Regions from separate parts of the Homo sapiens genome. Here region 1 is linked to region 2. The links are contacts of gene promoters, found by promoter capture Hi-C in human tissues and cell types (Jung and others, 2019). All regions are on one chromosome and are shown on one strand. The core of a region is centred on a gene start or on the middle of the fragment in contact, and the rest is flanking DNA. Distances in the headings are between cores, read along the strand shown. Region 1 overlaps LINC03028 (long intergenic non-protein coding RNA 3028). Region 2 holds the start of ABI1 (abl interactor 1).

Evidence for each region. Contacts are between HindIII fragments. The study calls those that stand out against the background at their distance.
Region 1: a fragment that was not itself captured here is called in contact with the fragment with the promoter of ABI1 in region 2 in 2 of the 25 tissues and cell types used here (dorsolateral prefrontal cortex and spleen).

What each region holds. Positions count from the first base shown.
Region 1 is chr10:26,573,860-26,577,933 of GRCh38, forward strand. It overlaps LINC03028 (long intergenic non-protein coding RNA 3028), which reads right to left. Exons shown (of 3, transcript NR_134472.1): 3 at 3,827-3,988. Among named protein-coding and RNA genes, the nearest start is that of LINC03028, 3.4 kb to the right of the region's middle. The HindIII fragment of the contact is 4,216 bases long and covers 1-3,484 here.
Region 2 is chr10:26,858,435-26,862,863 of GRCh38, forward strand. It overlaps ABI1 (abl interactor 1), which reads right to left and starts at 2,524. Exons shown (of 11, transcript NM_001012750.3): 1 at 2,313-2,524. The coding sequence starts at 2,429. RefSeq lists silencers at 1,897-2,046, 2,157-2,246 and an enhancer at 2,567-2,766. The HindIII fragment of the contact is 8,705 bases long and covers 1-4,429 here.

The sequences.
Region 1 (4,074 bases), core at 127-2,626, 290 kb before region 2:
ACAGCACACCACAAGGGGGAGGACAGGGAAACATCAAGGTCAGTCAGGAGGCAACGTGAATGGGGGAAAACATGGGAAAGAATCTTTATTGCAGTTCCATGGGAGGGAACAAGCAAGTCAGGGCAATCAGGCTTAGCATTGGCTAGTTTAAATATTTCATTGTCTTCTGGAAAGAAGAGGCTGCTATCTGGCCCTGAGGAAATTAGAGAGGCAGAACAGTGGCCAGAAATGTCAGAGTGATAAGGAAGAATAAAGACTGCAAAAGAGATAAACAGAGATAAAGAAGAATAAAGAGTGAGGAAGAGATGAGAAAGAAGGGGGTATAAACTCTGGGTTGGTTGGATTATATAGGAAAGTCATGCATGCAGGCAAGTTGTTTATTACATCCAGCAATTAGCCTATCCTCAGAGGGGCAGTCCCTCCAGGGTCAACAAGGCCCAGATTTCAAAGCATCAAATTCAGAAAATAAGAGACAAGACTAATACACCATTAAAGTCAGTATTATAATTAATATTATTCAACATTATCCTGGAGTCTCTAGCCAATGCACACAACAGCAAAACCAACAAGGTAACAAATATCTGAATGGAAAAGACAGACTTTTAAATTCTCAGATGATGTATCTACTTAAAATTTAAAAACCAAGTCAAGCAATCCATTAAAAGCTATTAAGTAGAGAAACTAAAAACTGTCCTGTGTACTATATATCAGTGAAGCTCATTTGTAAAATGTAGTATAAAGGGTGATTCAGAAGAGCAACAAGAACTAAAATATTTTTAGAATTGATAGACAATTTCAAAGTCTATAAGGAAAACTGTAAATGTTTATTGCAGATATAAAAGAAAACATCAGGAAAAAAGAGGTGCAGGTCATCACTGCTCCACCTAGTTCCAATAACTACGATTTAATTAAATAACGTGAGTTCCCCAACATGGTTCCAAATTCAGTTGCCATGGTATTTTAACTGTGAGTAATTACGTAAAGTACAAACTTTGTGTGAGCTCTTCAGTCCACAAATCACAACATAAATAACAGATGCAATCATGATCAGTGACCCATCATCTCTTTCAAATTATGAGGTTGCCAATCACTGCATATTTGTTACTGAGTTTATAAAGAGAACAAAGTATGTCGTTGTCTTGCCTCTTTGTCTCCCAGTGAGACGCTCACGTGACATTTTACAAAAATGAACAATCAAAAGAGGGAAGTGGTCAACAAACATGAAACTGCAAACAAAAAAAAAAAAAAAAGAAAAAAGGGATAACACAAAGTGAAATTCAAATGGAACATAAATGTAGTTATAGAAGAAATAGTGGCCATTCACTGAGGCAGATGTTTGCTCGGTATTTCAATTATTTTTGACAAATAAATCAATTCTGAATCTGACTGAAGCTCTATATTTACAGAAATACAGGGGGCACAGACACATGCTGTGTTAGGTTGTTTTTCTGTTGCTATAAAGAAATACCTGAGGCTGGGTCATTTATAAAGAAAAAAGGTTTAATTGGCTCACAGGTCTGCAGGCTTTACAGGAAGCATGGTGCTGGCATCTGCTCACCTTTTGGGGAGGCCTCTGGAGGTTTCCATTCATGGCAGAAGGCAAAGTGGAAGCAGGCTTCTCACATGGAGAGACTGGGACTAGAGAGCAAGCTAGGGAGGTGCCACACACTTTGAAACAACAGATCTCCTGAGAACTCACTCACCATCAGTGGGACAGCACCAAGTTATGAGGGATCTGTCCCCATGACCCAAACACCTCCCGCAAGGCCCCACCTCCAACATTGGGGATTGTATCTCAACATGAGTATATTAGTACATTTTCACACTGTTATAAAGAAACTACCTGAGACTGGGTAATTTATAAAGGAAGTTTTAATTGACTCATGGTTATGCATGGCTGGGGGTCCTCAGGAAACTTACAATCATCACAGAGGGTGAAGGAGAAGCAAGTCACATCTTACATGGCAGCAGGAGATAGAGAGCGAAGAGGAAATGCCAGACACTTATTAAACTACCATATGTCATGAGAACTCTCTCACTATCACAAGAACAGCATGGGGGAACGGCCCCCATGATCCAATCACCTCCCCACAAGTCCCTCCTTCCACACATGGGGGTCATAATTCAAGATGAGATCTGGGTGGGGACATAGAGCCAAACCATATCAATGAGATTTGGAGGGGACATCCAAACTATATCACAGGTTCAGTAAATAATACCACAGAATGCAATCAGAAAAATGCAGAATGTTGAAATACCACAGGATAAATAATCTGGTTTCTTCAATCGAAACTAAAGGAACCAATGGAGTGCAAGTGAAAAAAGATGTAGGGACACATGTAGGTGATATACTCAAAGATATCAAAGGAAGCTTAAGACGTCTTATCATCTAATTTTAATGTATACTCCTTATTCAAATCCCAATTAAAATAACCATAAGAGGCTGGGCACGGTGGCTCACACCTGTAATCCCAGCACTTTGGGAGGTTGCGGAAGGTGGATCACGAGGTCAGGAGTTCAAGACCAGCCTGGCCAAGATGGTGAAACCCGGTCTCTACTAAAAATACAAAAATTAGCCAGGCATGGTGGCAGGCGCCTGTGATCCCAGCTATTTGGGAGGCTGAAGCAGAGAATTACTTGAACCCAGAAGGCAGAAATTGCAGTAAGCCGAAATTGCGCCACTGCACTCCAGCCTGGACAACAGAGTGAGACTCCGTCACAAAAATAAACAAATAAATAAATAAATAAAATAACTATAAGATAATGCTGATGATAATAATTTACAAGACAATAGGAAAATGTTGAAAACTGACTGAATACTTCATTTGATACATTAAGAGTTATTGCTAATTTGCCTCAAGGTCATATGATGTCAAGGACTGTTTGTGTTCTAAGTCATTAGCATTTAGATATGCATATGGAAATATTTGTAGAGGAAATGATACAATGTCTGAATTTCCAAAAAATTGAGGATACGTATATTATACTTCAATTAAGGCAATAAAGAGGAATATGGAGAAAGTGTGTGGAGGTGTAGATGAAGCAAAATTGGCAATGTATTAATTGTTAGTAAGCTGATTAAATGGTAAATTAGGTTCATTAAACTATTAAAATTTTCTCTACCTTAGTAAATGTTTGAAAATTCTATGATAGAGATAAAAAAATCTCTAGGAGCATAATAAAACTAAATATAGCATAATAAAACTAAATACAGCACTGATATACCCCAAAGTGCTGAGTTTACAGTAAATACTAGATCAATATTTAATAATCCATTTTTTTTTAGACAGAGTTTCAATCCTGTTGCCCAGGCTGGAGTGTAATGGCGTGATCATAGCTCACTGCAACCTCTGCCTCCGGGGTTCAAGCAATTCTCCTGCCTCAGCCTCCTAAGTAGCTGGGATTACAGGTGCCCGCCACCACACCGAGCTAATTTTTTTTTTTGTATTTTTAGTAGAGATGGGATTTCACCACGTTGGCCAGGCTGGTCTTGAACTCTTGACCTCAGGTGGTCCACCTCCCTCGTCCTCCCAAAGTGCTGGGATTACAGGCATGAGCCACCAAGCCAGGCTCTAATGATCCATTTTGATTACAATGTCGTAAGATCTTGTAATCATTGAGAATAACTCACGTGCTTTATCAAAAATACCTTATTATTCCATTAAACTTACTGATTAGAACAAAAATCATCATGAAGTTGTTTCAAAGAATATGTTCCAATTTAATCGGCTAAAAATATTTGCATATATAATCATTATTACCAAATGTGGGATTGGCATCAAAATGTGGAGGATCAAAAATAATTTCTTAAACAGATTATTCTATGTTGCGTATAATGATAGAAGACTTCTTTAATTTATTTTTCCCAAATTAAGCAACTAAGTCTGAGATCTTTAGCCCAGGAAGGAGTAGGTGAGGCGTAGCCTGCTTCCTTGGCTGTCGAATGCTTCTGGAAAGGATGCTGAAGAACTTGCTGGAGAAGATGCACCTGGTAAAAAATGTGGGCAGATAAATATACATTATAATTACTCAGGACCCTGATGAATTTCTACATTTCTAAATGGCAAGGTCAAC
Region 2 (4,429 bases), core at 1,274-3,773:
TCATTGCTTTGCGTGAATTCTTTTTTTTTTTTTCCAATATGAACAAAACACCTCACTGGTGTCAGATTTAGGATTATACCCCACCCCGCCCCCACAAAAAAAGAAAAAAAAAAAAAAAAAAAAAAAAAACGGGGCCACTGACTGTGGCTATTCGTGCACCATGGCACTAACATTTTATAAAGTGAGAGACTGTATGAAAAATAACATGACTTAATTAGAGATATTAGCAATGAAGTTTTAAAGTGCTTCAAAGTTACATGATTGTAGCAAGAGGAGTAAAGGAAAGGGGTCAGAGAGGGGTAAAAAAAAAGCATTACAACATACAACTACCTGAAAAAGTAATAGTACACAGACAGGTTAAAACACGTTTACAGTTACTAACAGTTGCCAACACATAGTTACCACACTATATACTTGTCAGATTTCCCAACATGCAAAACAAAAAGGAGCCACCCCTGTATGAAGCACTTATCTACTGACTTCTACAGAGAACACATAACTTTTCTGGAAAGCGAGAAATTAAACTTACTGTGCTCTCCTTTTGGCTTTCAAAAATCTTTAAAACTTTCAGCAAATTAAGGTTCTCCTCAATTTCAAGGCTTTTCATGTTAAGTTGAATAAAAGTTGCCTATTTTTAATATCGATAAACTACGAGATCACTTTTATATTTGCAAACCATATCCACATCCCTACTAGATTTTTAAAAGTTTTTCGAAGGGCTAAATATAAAGTTTGCACAAAGTGATACAGTAGATGTGGCAGGCATTCAACAAGTTCACTTATCAGGAGAATTCCTAAAGTGAAAGCTTGAAAAAAAAATTGTGAAGATAAATTCCGAGTAGTGCTACTGAAGATACAATGTTACTAACATGAAAACTGAGAAATATTCAAAACATTCTGAAAACAGCATCTCCCTCTAAAAATAAAGAGGGGAAGCATTTGCCAACACAGAAACATCGGTTCTTAAAAATTATAATCACATGGGAGACATTTCTATAAACAATTTAGTTCTGAATTGCAATAACCCTAACCTTTCAAAGCACGTTTTGGCCTTGCCTTACCAAAAGCAAGAGCATTCCTGGTGCCTTTATATTTATACAAAGGACTGTGCTACTTTGTTTCTAGCGCAAACTGTTGGTTTACACAGTTAAAGATCTTCAAAACAAACTACCACACACAATTCACTTCCAATCATCCAAAGAGAAACGAACAAACAAGCATCTGTCACAAAGTCCCAAGAGTTTTCTAATTTACAATAACAGATATTTTTACGTTGTAGTTCAGAGGCTACCTCTGTTCGTTTCTGTATTTGGATTCACATACTATACATTTACTTAGCTTGTTAAGAGAGAAACCTCAGAAAATAAGCAACCGGCGATGACACCAGTCTATTTTAAGTTACTTATGAAGCCTACAGCTCAAGAACTTTTGGGAGAAGGGAGGGTAAGCCGTTTTTCCAAGGAGTTAAGAACAATTCGTGTTTGATAATTAATGATAGCAGCCCTAACAACCTCTTAGAATACATTATGGTGGGGCGGAAGTGAAAACGATGAGAGGGGGAAAAAAATAAAAAAAACCCGACTTGAAAATGGACAAGCAGACAGATTTACAAACCTTCAATTAAAGGAATTTTAAGATGAACTTCTCTCAAACGCCCTCCCTCACTCCCCACACCCGCTTCCTCCTCTCCTCCGGGAGGTCGGTGTAATGTGACTCATGACAAATTTTTTTTAAATAAATAAATAAATAAAAGACACACCCTCTGGGGGCTGAAACTGACATAATCGCCCCCACCCCACCCTCCGCCGACACACAACACACACCCCGCTGGTCCTCTCCCTTCTGCGGCTTCAGCCTCGTCCCTGCCCTCTCCTCTCCCCTCTCCCGTCCTGGACCTCCTCTCCCGGCGCAGAGAGGCGGCGCGGCGGCAGCTCGGGGGTATTCCGGGACTCCAGCCCTGCGGACTGGAGGCTACCTGGGGGGCGCGCGACCCCGGTGGCCGGGCCCTGGGGGAAGCGGACGCGAGGGGGGCGCCGGGCTGCGGCAGCGGCGGGCTCCCGGCTCCCTCGCCCATTTTCTCTCTCCCCTTCTATCGGTTTCCACCACCACAGCCACTTCCTGTATCGCAGCCCGACTCCCTCAGCCCGGCCACTCGCTCTGTCCCCGGTTGGGGCTGGGGTTGGGGCTGCGGTAGGGGCTCGGGTTGGTGGCAGCCGCTGAGGTCAGGGCAGTTCCCCACCCCGCCCAGTGGGCTGGTCACTCCGGCGGGTCCTCGACCCGGCCAGCGCCCGCCGGCCGCCAGAGCGCCTCACCTGTATGTAGTTGTTTTCACAGTAGTCTGCCACCCGAGTCAGGTTCTGGTAACTCTCGATCAGCGCCCTCTTGCCAGACGGGATCTCCTCCTCTAGTAACATCTGCAGCTCTGCCATTTTCCACCCCTCTGCATCGCTTCCTCTCGCGTTAAAGAGACAGAGGCAGCAAGGTCCGCCGAGGCTCCGAGCACCTCACAGCCCGGATACAAACCGCCTACCCGCCCTCCCGCCTGGTATTGTGGGACGGCACCTCCTCCCCTTCCTCCTCACTCTCTCCAGCCCCCCTCCACCCCCTTCGTGCAGCCGCCTGAACCTCGTTCTCTCGCGAGCGTTTATTTCTCCCACCCCCACGGACCGCGGGATTTTTTTTTTCTTTCGCACTGTCTTCTGGGAATTGTAGTCTCTCCTAGGCTAGGCGGCCCGTCCAAAGCGCATGCGCCCAGACACCTCCGAAAACCAACGCGGCAGAGCGCAGAAAGCGGAGACCGAGGGTGGAGGGAGGGGGCGGTGTTGGGGGGAAGTCCGGAGTTTCCTCACAGCTCCGGAAGGTGGCGCCACAGGGTGATACTGGGGGAATGAAATCGGTTCCCCAAGTTTCATGTGAAACTTGGCAGAACTTGGTTAATTAGGAAATGTCAGTGAATCAAGGACACCCATTCAGAGAAGGATTAAAAAGGGGACAGAGTACGGAAAACTAGATTTTTACTTCCTCTGCCTTCTTAGAAATAAAGCGAGTCAGGCTTTACTTTCTGAAGTTCCGCCCCCATCAATTCATTTAAAATTTAGCAAACATTTCTTGATTGCCAGCTGTTTACCAAGCAGCGTACTAGACACTGGGGGTACAAGTTGAGTACGAATACTCCGTACCCTTAAAGACTCAATTATAAAATAAACATACATAGCTTGTAGTGCTTTCCTGTCCTAATTTCTCTTTTCTCTGACTCTCCTTATCATGTAATCTTCCTACACTTTTAAGGTCATGTGCACGTTTTTTTAGGGGTGGGAGTTGTTTGCTTGTTTGAGACAGGATCTCACTGTTACCCAGCCTGGAGTACAGGGGCACAATCATGGGTCTCTGCAGCCTAGACCTCCTAAAGTCAAGCGATCCTCCTGCCTCAGCCTCCAGAGTAACTGGGACTACAAGCGTCGGTCACTACACCTGGCTGAGCTTTTTAATTTTTTATAGCGACAGGGATCAAATTATGTTGCCCTCGCTCGTCTCGAACCCCTGGCCTCAAGCAATCCTTCTGCCTCAACCTCCCAAACTGCTAGGATTACAATCATGAGCCACCCACCCTGATCCTTCGTTTTTTGCTCCTGGATTTTTGTTTTGTTTTGTTTTTATCACCTGCTTTGGAATAGTCTCAAAAGGCCCTATATTTCAAGCTCTTCACTTCAACAGGAACATTAAATGCTTCGGATATAATCAGCTATGAAAAGTGTTGTCCAAAGACTTTGGACATATGTTCATGTATCTCCATAAAGTCATTTAGAATCAAAATAACTAGGAGTAAAAACATCACTCAACCAAATTAAAAATTGCCAGCACCAGGTATTTATTGAATATTGCCTTTACTGGGGCCTTATTCAGGGCCCCAGGGAACCAGTTTCCCTCTTCGACCTCTGAAAGGAAAAACTCAGTTTCCTACTAAAAACGTTAACTTCCCCTTGCCACCAGATTCTCCATCAAGGAATCTATCAAAAGATAACTATTATACCTATTCCAGATATTATGGAAAGTAATACATTTATTATCTGGAATAGGTGTAATAGTTATCTTTTGATATTTATCGTTAACCCAAACACGACTTAATCCAAGTTATTAAAATTTAATGTATTATTGATCTTGGTCTCTACTTGAGGTTTAACTGTAGAAATCACTCAGTTTGTATATATTCAAATATTGACACATTTCAACAACATTGGGGAAGTGATTAGGGAGGTGATACTAATTTACTATTTTCAACGTACTGTCCATGCAGTTGAGCAATGAATGAATAATAATGATGATGATGATAAATACAAATAAAAAGTACTGTCAGATTTCTTCTCACAACTCTGAGAGACAGATAATATAAATATTATTTTCCTTCCTTATCAAATAAGGAAATTTAAGC